2 separate regions of the Homo sapiens genome follow, and region 1 is linked to region 2. The links are contacts of gene promoters, found by promoter capture Hi-C in blood cells and fetal thymus (Javierre and others, 2016). All regions are on one chromosome and are shown on one strand. Each heading gives the region's core, a stretch centred on a gene start or on the middle of the fragment in contact. The rest is flanking DNA. Distances are from core to core; before and after follow the strand shown.

Evidence for each region. The method cuts DNA at HindIII sites, captures the fragments that hold promoters and counts their contacts. A CHiCAGO score of 5 or more calls a contact.
Region 1: a contact is called between a fragment that was not itself captured here and the fragment with the promoter of RGS13 in region 2, in 1 of 17 cell types (total B cells). The highest score is 5.4, in total B cells.

What each region holds. Positions count from the first base shown.
Region 1 is chr1:194,285,793-194,291,842 of GRCh38, forward strand. All of the region lies in intron 2 of LOC107985242 (a long non-coding RNA gene), which reads right to left. It overlaps LOC105371670 (a long non-coding RNA gene), which reads right to left. Exons shown (of 3, transcript XR_922390.2): 3 at 5,447-5,588. Among named protein-coding and RNA genes, the nearest start is that of LINC01031, 980 kb to the left of the region's middle. RefSeq lists a silencer at 3,774-3,974. The HindIII fragment of the contact is 5,907 bases long and covers 694-6,050 here.
Region 2 is chr1:192,630,886-192,637,396 of GRCh38, forward strand. RGS13 (regulator of G protein signaling 13) reads left to right here and starts at 5,262. Exons shown (of 7, transcript NM_002927.5): 1 at 5,262-5,432. LOC107985241 (a long non-coding RNA gene) reads left to right here. Exons shown (of 2, transcript XR_001738348.2): 2 at 3,124-3,665. The HindIII fragment of the contact is 2,675 bases long and covers 4,095-6,511 here.

The DNA of each region.
Region 1 (6,050 bases), core at 2,397-4,896, 1.7 Mb after region 2:
ATTTGAAGCTTCGTGAGAAAAATAAAATTATCTTTTGCTACTTCACAGATCAGTAATAATTTTTGATTCATCTCTTAAATTTCTAGTGAAATCCAGATAATAGGTCAAAACTCCAGATGAATCATCCTTGGTCTTCTGATTTCTTTCTCATCACACATTCTGTCTATTACAAAATTATTTTGGCTTTGCCTTCAAAATATGTCTAGAATCTGACCAGTTTTCTTTACTTCCACTGCTACAGTAGTTTAAACCACCAACATCTCGCACCTAAAATACTAGAGGAACCTTCAAAAAGGTCTCCTTTATTCTGCATTTTCACCTCACAAACCATTCCCAATATCACATCCAGAGTAATCTTGTTAAAATGTAAAGGAGGGAGGTCAAACCTCTGCTTAGAGCATTACAATGGTTCCTAATTTCACTTATAGCCTAAAATCTTCATAGTCACTTTCAACACTCTTTATTACCTAAAATACCCCTCCTTCTTTCCCCTCTTCTTAACTTTAATTCTAACTATTTTTTCCCTCATCCACTCCATCCACATTGACCCCTTGCTAATGTAAAACATATGAAGACAATAGGTATTTGCTTTACCTGCTATCTCCACTACACAATGCAAATGCCCGCCCCACCCCACCCCACACTCTCAATTTCCCTTATTTTGTACTAGTTTTTCTTTTCATGGGCCTTATAAGCTTCTTACTGGTATCTTATTGGTACTTATCTTGGTTCATTGGTATTTCTCATTAAAATGTAAGCTCTACAAAGCAGAAGTCTTTATACATTTATATTGTATATTTTTACAGAGATTTCTGCAGATAGATCTGTGATTAGAATAGAGCTTGGCAAATATTAGGTTATCATTAAGTTATTTTAATATGAATAATTAATAAATGAATGAAAAAGTGAGTGATTCTGAAAAGCAAAGTCCCAGAGTTATATATATTTAAACAATGTAGATATTTGAATTTTCAATCAGAAATCACAATAATCCTTACAATTTATTTTATTTTATTTTATTTTATTTTCGAGACAGAGTTTCGTTCTTGTTGCCTAGGCTGGAGCGCAATGGCGCCATCTTGGCTCACTGCAACTTCTGCCTTCTGGGTTCAAATGATTCTCCTGCCTCAGCCTCCTGAAAAGCTGGGATTACAGGCATGCACCACCACACCCAGCTAATTTTTTTGTATTTTTCGTAGGGACGGCATTTCTCCATGTTGGTCAGGCTAGTCTCGAACTCCCAACCTCAGGTGATTCACCCGCCTTGGCCTCCCAAAATGCTGGGATTACAAGCATGAGCCACCGTGCCGGACCAATCCTTACAACTTTAAGGATGTTTTTCATTCCTACATATTATTGAATTTATGTACCAGTTTAATGACAGAAGTAATTTTTTTTTTTTTTTTTTGAGATACAGTCTTGCTTTATTTCCCAGTCTGAAGTGCAGTGGCATGATCGTAGCTCACTGCAACTTCTGACTCCTGGGTTCAATTAACTCTCCTGGCCTCAGCCTCTGGAGTAGCTGGTACTACAGGTGTGCACCACTGCATCTGGCTGAGTTTTTGGTTTTTTGAAATTTTTGTGGAGACAGGGTCTTGCCATGTTGCCCAGGCTAGTCTCAAACTCCTGGCCTCAAGTGATACTCCCACCTCAGCCTCCCAAACTGCTGGGATTACAGATGGGAGCCACTGTGCTCATCCAGAAGTAATTTTTGAACTAAAACATGGCAGATCATTCCTGATTTGCCTTGAGAATTGCAAGACCTCTCCTCATAAAATATATGAGAATGGGAAAATAGCCACAATATGCCATTATGTACAGACAAATCCAAGAAGGAATTTATTCAGAGACCCAGAAACATGGAAAGTAGGTTGATTATACGGGGATAGATTTCAATACAGAACATGAAAAAAGACTTGAGAAAAACACAAGAATCTATGTGGGAAGTCGAATATCATTCCTAATAATGCAATTTTTTAATTATTAAGTATCCAGAGTTGCAGTTACCCAATCCCAGTGTACTAGATAAATGGGAACTCAGAAATAGTGACAAAAGCAGGAAGAAAATCATAGTAATTGGGAAGAATAGGCTAGGAGTTGGATGTGTAAATCGCATTTCCTGACTGAGCACTGTGCAACGTGGCCATGCCACAGTAGAGGTGCAAAATGGTGGCTGCTCATTTGGCCTCTTCCCACTCCAACAGCATTCTTTTTTTATAGTGTCTATTTTGAATCATGTAGTTTTCATAACCTATACCCTGATATTAATTTAATGATATAAAATAATGCAAATTATTTTATAATTGCTCTATGATGCATTTCTTTACAAAAGACAGTGGATTTGTAAAGACATCCATTTTTATATCCTGTTGTCTTCACAAACCCACTCATGGCTACTGGTCAACATATCAATTAAAACCCTATAGGAAGAGCCAATAATTATGTTTACTTATATTCAGGGCAATGAAAATGTCAGCACATTCAGCATCCTTATACGATTACAACCTTCTGTATACTTCAGAACACATATGACAGGTAATTTAATATCTGGCATAGTGGAAAATTCCAGCAAATCTAACAACTCCCTAATGGCATCTTGCCACAGATGTTTAATAGGGGAAGAGAATGTATCAAATCTGTATTCCTATTTAAGTCCTAGAGAAATGAGCTTGTTTATTTATAGCAAAACAATGCTTTTACAGTAGCACTTAAAATATATTGCCTGTCAGTTTTAATATTTATTATGACATAAGTGACTGATAGAAACAGGAAGAAATAATATTTTAAAGACAGAAAGATACAGCTTTGTTGAATTCTTTCTGAGACTCAGGTTAAGAAAGCTGTAAGTGACAGCTACTTTGAAGGAAGAATATTACTTACTAGAATTTCAAATAATGAAAATAATAAAACAGATAAAAGAAAAGAAAACTATTATTTTCTTTCAGACTATAAATTTCCACTTCTATGTAGACGACAAATCACTCATCGCTCTCTAGCATGTATGCAAACAGATAGATTAAAAGCTAAGTAACCAAAGAAATGGAAAGATCAACTTTCTTGTGACAGAACATCCAAAAATGTCAAGAGGTAACTTTGGGAAAAGAGATTACAAGAGAAGACTGAGCACATTTCATTTCCTCCCTCCTTTCTTGAAGGAGATAATCAGTCATGAATATCATCGCTTTTTTTTTTCCATTTTCTCCTTTTACAATTTTGAGTTGATTTTGCCCTTTGAAATCACTTTCTCTAACCTCTCCAGTAAAAACCAATACCTGAACTAAAATAAAATAAAAAACTTAAAACAAACATTTATATTTAAATCCTTTTTAGTCCAAATTTGGGAAGAAGAGAAATAGCATAAAATAATGGCTTGTTACAGATGTATTTTTCTATTATTATTATTTTTTAAATTTATAACTTTTATTAACAAAACAAACTGAGGAGAAGGGCCAAAGAACACTGGTTTTGGAAGTTGGATGAATAAGTAAGTGATAGAAACAGGGTTAAAATATCAGTAAACATAATTTTCCCATGGGTAACTTCATAAATGACTAAGTAAGAACTGATTAAGTATTTTGGTTTGCATTGTTAAAGATTATGAAACTCAAAAAATTTACAAGCCTCTTGAAAATCTTAAACATACAATATTTAAAAATATGCAGCTGGTTCTTGGGGAAATATAGAAGTGTCATATAAATGCTCATTACAACATATTTCAAATTATAATAATGCTGATATTTCTAACAAAACACAAGAGCCCTTGTGACCTGCTTCTATCCAAGTGTATCTTTAATCTCACTTACCTTTTTTATGTATGCAAGTGGTACGATGGAGATGTAGGGCTTCATGAGAGAGACAATGCATGCAGGAATGCACCTGCATTGCCCCTGTTATGCAGCTAGCAGATGGAAATGTGGTTAAGAACTTCCTCTTATACCAGAATGTTTGCTCAGAAGGGACTGTCCCAACTTAGGCGCAGGTGTAATAAATCAACTAAATGTCCTTAACTTGACTCAAGCTCATTATAATATCATTAGCATGACATCTGCATTGTGGTTTCACCACCACCACCCCTACTACCCACTGGGCCTTTCTGTGGTGCTTATGCATAATAATTAAGATGGAATAACTATGGACAAGAACGCACCTGGGCAGTAAGAACTGGGACCAGGAAGCAACTAGGAAGTAAAAGGTTGTGCAAGATGCAAATGAGAAACACACCCCTAGAAATGAGGTTTTTAATCCCCTAGGGCAACCCACTTTTGAGTCCCCTCTCCTTACTGAGCGCTTTCTGTCACTTAATAAAGTCTATTCTGCCATACTCACCCTCCTATGTCCATGTACCTCATTCATCGTGGTGGTGAGACAAGAACTCAGACCTCGCTAAGCTAAGGAGTAAGGCTTCTGCAACAGAACAAGCCAGAATTTCCTACATGAAATATTTATTTTCACATCTTTGTGATGTTCTGACAGTGTGCTGAAGGAAAATGACTTTTTTCCATTCTTTATTTTAAAATTTTGTATTTATTATTAAAGACTCATATTAAGTATTTCCTTTAAACTCCTTTCCTGGATCTCTGATATGAGTTGAATTTACCTCATTTACGATGGCAACCTAAACATACCATTATATCATCACTTAGTGTACTGTATAAAAATCTGTTTTCTATGGGTTACCTCTTCTACTAGGCTATAAGATCCCTATTTTGATTAACCTGGCTTTACTTACCTCTGTCTTTCAGTGTCTAGAATGTGCTAAAAATTTTTATCATAACATAATGAGGTCATTCTTAGTACTAGACAATTGGTAATAGGGTCCAGCCCCCTTGGTACCCATGGAATTAGCAGTTAACTTTTTGGCTCCCACAAGTAATGAGATTTATTGTACACCATCATCAAAATAATAAGTCTTAAAAAGGAGTATATCCTGCAGATGTAGAAACTTTACTACACATTATAACTACATCTTTTTGCCTCTGTTTATTCTGAAAGAAAAGCAATTTAACCTGATGTTTTAACGTCATGTGGTGCATACTATATAATATTAAAGCATGTAAATGGGGTGGTGGTGATCAATGCCTTGATAAACTTAGTTAGTGGTTTTCTTTCAACAGGCAAACCTCTAGGCTTAGTGTAAAGACGTTCTATGATATTTGTTCTAACCAGGACTAAGTCACTCCTTGTATTAGTAAGAAAATACTGTGGAAGACTAGAAACAAGGTGGTGGGGGTAGGGGTAAAAAGAAGAAGAGAAGGGGCGAGGATGAGAGGGAAGGAAGGGGAGAGGAAGAGAGGAGTAAGTGGAAGAGAGAGAGAGGAGAAATAAAGACACAGAAATAAAAAGAAAGGGAAATAGAAAAGATGCTTTCTTCTTCCTTCCTTGCTTGCTTGATTGCTATCTTGCTTGCTTTCTTTCTTTCTCTCTTTCTTTCTTTTTCTTTCTTCTTTTTCTTTTTTCTTTCAATGAAAATGTGTCATAGGAACAAATGTGGTGTTCCCTCTGAGACAACTACACTCCCAGGTGCCTCTTCCAACACATTTTCGTTCTCTTTTTATCATGGCATAGACAATTGTCAGCACTGCTGAAAACTAAATACAGAAAAAGTTGGTTGAGGTTATACTATTCCTTTCATGCTACAATGATGTAACATCATTAAGATCAAAGGGAATTGTTAACTTTCCTCTAATAATAAAAAACACACAAAAATACTGAAACCTTGGATAGGCTTACGAACATTTTAAAAGGCAGAATAACTTTCCCTTACTCAGGATAAATTTTGCCTCTTATCTCTAAATATTATCCTACTGTTTGACAAGAAATAAAAAAATTACTAAATCTTTCACATCCCATATTTTACTGCTGTCTATATTTTACATTTGATATAAACATTTTACAGCAGGTATTGTACACTGAAATTTGGATTCATTTATCTCATAAAAAGGAATACAAATGATGGATTGAAACACCCTGGTATCTAAAATTCTAAAAACATTAATATTTTTACTGAAAGTTATAGATTATATTAACACCAGGGTATAGTCAGTGAAAAT
Region 2 (6,511 bases), core at 4,012-6,511:
TAGATTATCTAAATTTCCTTTAACCTCTAAATGTCCGTGATGGAACTTCTGCTTTAAAATGGGGTTGGAGAAGCAGTCTCTGAAACAAGCTCTTCCACTTCCTACACAGACAACCAACATTTAAATATAAAAATACCTTCCTTATTAGAAAAGTTGCCTTCACAAAGCTCTTTGGCAAAGGTTATAAGGAAAGCAAACAATCGATACAAATTTCACATTTCTATTTACTTTCTGCCTACTCACTTGGAAAAGCAATAAGATGAAATAAATTCCCACTGATCTGGGGGAAAATATAACTAGAATGCCATTTTTCCTAAGTTCCTTTGTTTGGAAGTTTTTAAAAGAGTTAAAACAAGCTTCACGGTTTATTAGATATTATTTTCTGTAGTGTTTGAAAATGTTATGGGGTAAAAAAAGGGCATGTGTTTTTAATGCCCTGAACATTTTCTTTTTCAAACAAAAGTCATCCTTCTTGTGTCTCGGTCCCCGTTGTTCTTCTTCCCATTCTGCCCCTTTGCTCAGCTTCATCTATAAAAATCATTTGTGTAATCTCTATTGGCCCCACGCTGTACATTCAGGATGCCTTATGTAGTTCCAGGCCTCCAGGATTATATTTCTTATAACACCAATCACTCTTCATTTTCCTTTGGATGTTATTTTCTTTGGGCAAAATTACTTTTCCTTTGTGTAAAAATGTTTTAAGAAAATATTTTCCATATCTGCAAAAAGCATGTAGTTGATGCACTAGTTTTACAGTTCTTAAAGCAACTCCTCAAATATTCAGACTTGAGGGGGAATTAAACAACACTTTTTGTATGGAGGAAAGCATACCAAAGTAGGTTTCTGAAGCTTCTGGGATTGCAATTTTTAAAATTCTTTGCCTTTTCTACAAAACTAAACTTGTTTTATCTAATCTTATTTGCATTATCATATCTTTCAGAGGTTTTAAGATATAGTGTCATAATCCTAAAGAAAAACATTTGCCTTGTATTTTATTCTAGTTCCTTGTTTGACTAAGTCACAAGGACACCATTGTTTAAATTTGCATGCCTCATAAAAATATATATTTGTGTAAATTATACTTACAAAGCATCTCCAGATATATCTCATTAACCACTACACAAATTATAGGTTACAAAAAGGTTACAGTCAGAGAGGCAGAACTACTTCTTAGGAAAGTATGAGATATGGGAAGCTTGTACAATATAATCCTTCCCAAACTTCACCCTATAATTTTTATCTAAGTGAAAATTGGTTAAAATGAACATTAGGGTAGTTTTTAGCTTGGATAAATCCTGTTGGGAAAAAAAAACTATATCCATCTATTCTTTGAATATTTATTGAGCATCTACTACATCAGTCTGAATGCTATGTCCACATATGCATTTGAAGCATGAATGAGAAAAGTGGGAGACTCCTTTGGTAAAGCAGGGAGAAGGAATGCAGGCTAATTCTGAGCTCTGCGCTCTTTTAGTCTCTCCTATCAGCTGACTGAGGTACCTATTTCTTTTAAAATGTTCCCTGCCTCTGATTCACTACCTAGCCATCTACTGCCCTCAATCACCAGACACCACGTAAGTCCTGAGGATAGATTTGTTTCAAGAATAAGACAAAAAGTATTTCAATGGTGATCTACAGAAAAACCATTTTAATTTCTGTGATAAGAAAAAAAAAACCGGAAATGTGGCACAAGTATGTTTGTTCTGTACTTCTATAGTAGAAAATTTATATACTTTGCACATGGCAGAACAGGACAGGCTTATCTAAACAATAAGGGATAGTGAGTTGATTAGGTGATTGGAAACAGGCTTCAGCTTTGCAACTGCACATCAGTGGGCCTTGTATGTTCAAAGCATTCCGCATCTAAAGAAGCAAACGATGCTTTCCATCTGTGATAACAAGGAAATGCTAAAGTTCCAATTTCCTTGACATTTTATTGCATTTACTTTTATCTAAAATGAGTATATAACATTATCTTATATAAAAGGAAAGCATGGTAGACGAGACATATCTTGAAAATCTTCTCTCTACCAGACATCCAGAAATGCTAAAAAAAAATATGTAACAACCCCATTTAAATGCATAGGCAAGCTTGCCAAAACTAAGAGAAATCAAGAAAAAAACAGAGGGAATCCTAAATCAGAGTGATAAACTGGCATTTAAAGTTTAGCTGAGTTCAGCATTTGCTAATCTCAGTAACCTAGAGATCTGGCTTTTAAGATCTGTTGCAAGCCAGGAAACAAAATCAAAGGCTGTCCTAATATGAGCCGGGGGCTCTTGAACTGCTATACCTTCAGTGAAACAGCAGACAGAAAAAAAACAAGTCACCTACAAAAATTGATGACAGGAACATGTCTATTTCAGCATAAAACCAGGTCTGTAATTTAAATTTACCCTACCTGTGTGGTCCAGGAGACCCAAGCTAAGAAAATAACAAAGCAGTCTTGTGTTAGAGAAGTGCCTGGGCTGCCTGACAGAGCCAGTGCAAATCCTCTTCAAAGGGACGTGCCCTTAACCCCATCCTTAGAGAATTTCACAGATCAAACAATGTGAAAGTACAAAAGAGCTAATAGACTCATCTCAGTGCAAATTAAACAACTGTGGAGTGTCTCCTTTTTTTTTTCCGGGAAAAGAACACTTTCCTATGTTAATGTTACCCCAAATACACTGGTGGAAACAATAAGATTTGAATGAATTCCCCAGAATTTAGTCAGGAAGGACAAGACAATCCACCAAGTGCTCAGAAGAAAATAGAAACCAAGTAGGACCACTGGTTTTTTCAATTACATGCTGGAGATCTGAAACCTGAGAGCACTGCCGACTTTCTGGAAGGGCCAAGAGAATGGATTTAAAGCAGCTACCAAAAGGGAACTAAGAATGATTGGGAGTTAGTGACTAAACTTTATAGCATAACAGGACCATGATTATAATTAAAGACATCTTTAAAGCAAATCATCTGAATAAATGCACACAGAATTGGTAACTAACTTTAATTGCTACTGAGGTTTATTTTATGCTAACAATAGTGTTCAATGCTCAGTAATCTCTTCCTAATTTTTGTTGTCGGTATATTTTGGGTTCACACAAGTCAGAAACCAAAGTTAGATTGTTTCTAATTGGCAGCAAACCAGAGGGGACGGGAGACTGGTCAAGTCTCTGAGTCGTCCACTCCAAGATGCGGACAATGAGTGTATGAAGACAGACTGAGAATGCGCTGCAAAGAAGCTTGGAAGAAAATGAAGGCAGAGAGGACAGACCTGAAAGGCTAAGAGGGACAGATCAGCGTCCATGGAAAGCAGGAGCAGAAGCCAGTCTTCTTCCAAACACTGGCACAAACCACTGCCTACTGGATACATTTCACCAGACAATTCACCCCAGTGTCCAAGAGTTTATCTTGCTTCTAGAATATATTGAAAAGAGCCACCCTCTGAACAAATGGCAAACACTATATAGTATAAATAGGATGCACTGAAAATAGTAGGCTTATTTCTTAAGCTGTCATCACGAACATTAACCAGTAATTATATTTCTCCACTTTTTGTAGAAGACATAAATGGCAAATTCTGAATTTATAATTTCTAATACTTCATTTTTCTGCTCTTGTAAAGTTCATTTTGAACTTTCAACATAAAAATATTAAAGATTTTTAATTGTGCACATTTGAACTTGTGTTACTTTGGACTTACATTGGCTGAAATTGAAATATAGTAAAAGTGCTCTAGAGTAAGCAGATCAGTTCATCAGAAGGACAGCCTTTCAATGGAAAGGGCATTCCCAAGCTGCACCAACGAAAGCATAATCCTGTTACCTGCCCTAACCTGACAGCTCTGAATTAGTCTGATCCACCTATGTGCCGTACAAAGCATTATATTGCTATGATTTCATAAACTGAACTTGAACTACACTTTTTCAGAGAAACAAAACCATGTTTAGAAATCTGCCACAAATATCTACACATTGCTCTTGAATTCCTCCAGGAATTTCCACCTACTCGTGCTGTTACTCTTCACTCTATGATTTATTTGTTTTTCAGTCCCTGTCGATACTTAAGTTTTACTCTGTAGGGAGATTCTCATGTTTGACTCCATTAAACAAGCTTTGAAACTGACACTCGCACAGGGTGTTACTTCCAGAATCTTCCTGCCAGCTCCTTGCATCCACACCATGAGAAAGAGCAAACATTCCAAATCCCAAAAAAATGAATTATTTGGGGTGAGGAAAAGTCTTGACTATGACACTGAAGATTTCCTGAAGAGATCCAGCATCCAAAATGTCCTGAGTGGGGAGGAAATCGCACACCTAGCACCCAGAGAAAATGAGTGCTATCCACAAACAACCCAGATCCTCCCAAGCTGAGGCTAACCTGCCCTTCACTTCCTACATTATTGCTACATCTACGCAGCTTCTGACTTTCCAAAGTTTCCTTTCCTTTTCTAGTCCCAAACTTATCTCTCAGGTTTGAGAAATTCAATTTTCTTGGGTTTGAATCTCAAAATTATAAAAGACAAGTAAGGTTAATCTTCTATCTCATTGGGCCCCTAAATATTTTAAGAAACACTCCATCAACCACATTTTGATCTTCTTTACTGCTGTTTTATTCTAGCATTTCTTTACTCCTACCTCTCTGTTTCTCTCTCTCTCTCTCCCCCCAAACCCCCCAACTCCCCCACCCCTCCCCACACACACACACAATTGGAGTAAATCCAGGACAAGGGCATTCACAATCTTACCATATTCTGTATTCATTAGACCTTATCTTAAGCACTGTGTTCAATTCAGATTTTGAAGGCATGTTAACAAACTGTAGAACAACGGAGTCCAGAACTGCTGTAGAGGACCAGTTGAAGGAACTAGAGAGGTATAACTAGAAAAGATACTTTTTTAGATCCTTCAGTTGTTAAAAGTCCCTAGTAATCTATTACAAACAGATTGATTTTAATAGTTCTCAACCATTTGCTAACATGTGTTTGCAGTGATGTCCTATGTGTTTGTACTCAGTTCTCTGTCTTTTTTAAAAGGGAATTTTACTTTAGACTATACATTTTCTAAAACTAGAAAAATTATTTTGGAGAAAAAGATTTGAGTATTACTTTGAAGATTTCATGAAGCTGCTGCTTCCAATCATCTGATCACTTCAGATGGTCTGATAATGTTAGATAAAACCTCTTTATCAGTAATGCACTGGAGTCCTACAGCACTACTTTCCATATTCAACAAAACCTCTCTTTGCATAGATACGTGTGTGTAAAAACAGAACATTCATACTGAGGCCAGAGTGCCATCGAAGGTAATTATAGAGACAGTAAAATCCTTTTACTCTGGGAAAAATAAAATGCTGGGTGTCTCACAAAATTTCAGAACCTGATTTCAAACGGATCATAACAAAGAGGAGATCAAATTTAGCATGGTGGACTGCTCGACAGGATATATTTGTAAGTATGAGATTCTATAAAATAGTTGATAAATACAAGACTATTGGCTTGCTATAAATCACTAGCAGATGCTGATTTCAATGGTAGAACTTCTGGGAGTGTTAACAGAGGTTTTTCTAAGAAAAAAAGACAAACTAACAAACACATATTCTTTTGCCTGGCTTTCTATATTTAAAACAAAACTTAGAGTCACTCCTTATATAAATAAATCTTCTAAGTTGGGCAACAGAGGAAATGCTACAGTTTTAAAGTATATTATTTCATTTTATGTTTTTGTGTATATTTTCATTTTAAATGTTTTTCATTTTATATGTTTAGATAAAAACATATTATAAAATCAGACATAGCTGAATTATTTGTTTCAAAAATCATGCATTACCAAATTATTAGTTCCATCCTTTGTTAACTGTACTGAAGCCAGGTGTGGATTATTATAAGGTTTATCTGAAACATTGTTAATCTTGATTTTGTAGAATTTTTTTATTCTTTTATGTTATGCTTAAGCACAACTATGCACAAATTTCTTGAATTTTTTAAAGGACAAGAAATTTGTGTGCTGTGGTCAACAAAAGCTCACTAAAATATAAATTGCTCCAAATTTTACTAAATTTTATGTAACATGCTATATCATAAAATAAAGAAACATATTTAAATGCAGATATATGTAAACAGACAGAATTGCTTTAAGAAAATTTATTTATTTTCATAATACTTTAAGATTTCATTTAAATAATGGAGGAAACAAATCTAATTCTGGCATACTACTAATACAACTCAATCCATTACCAATGCATTTATAATCACTCTGAGAATTAGATTCTATCGGTGAAATGTATTTCTTTCAAATAATTATCAGGAGAAAACAGTGGAGGCAAAATCATCGTGGAGACCTAAACTTGTTCTAAACACTCTATGTTTCGATTGTAAAAGTACACACTAGTTTTACCAAGAGGGTATTGAAAAACAAAAAAGGAAAGCAAATTAATACACAATATTAAGATAAATATAGATTATTTAAATAAAAAGTAATGGAAAATTACAAATTAAAACAGTAAAGAAATTTTTATAATAAGCCATGA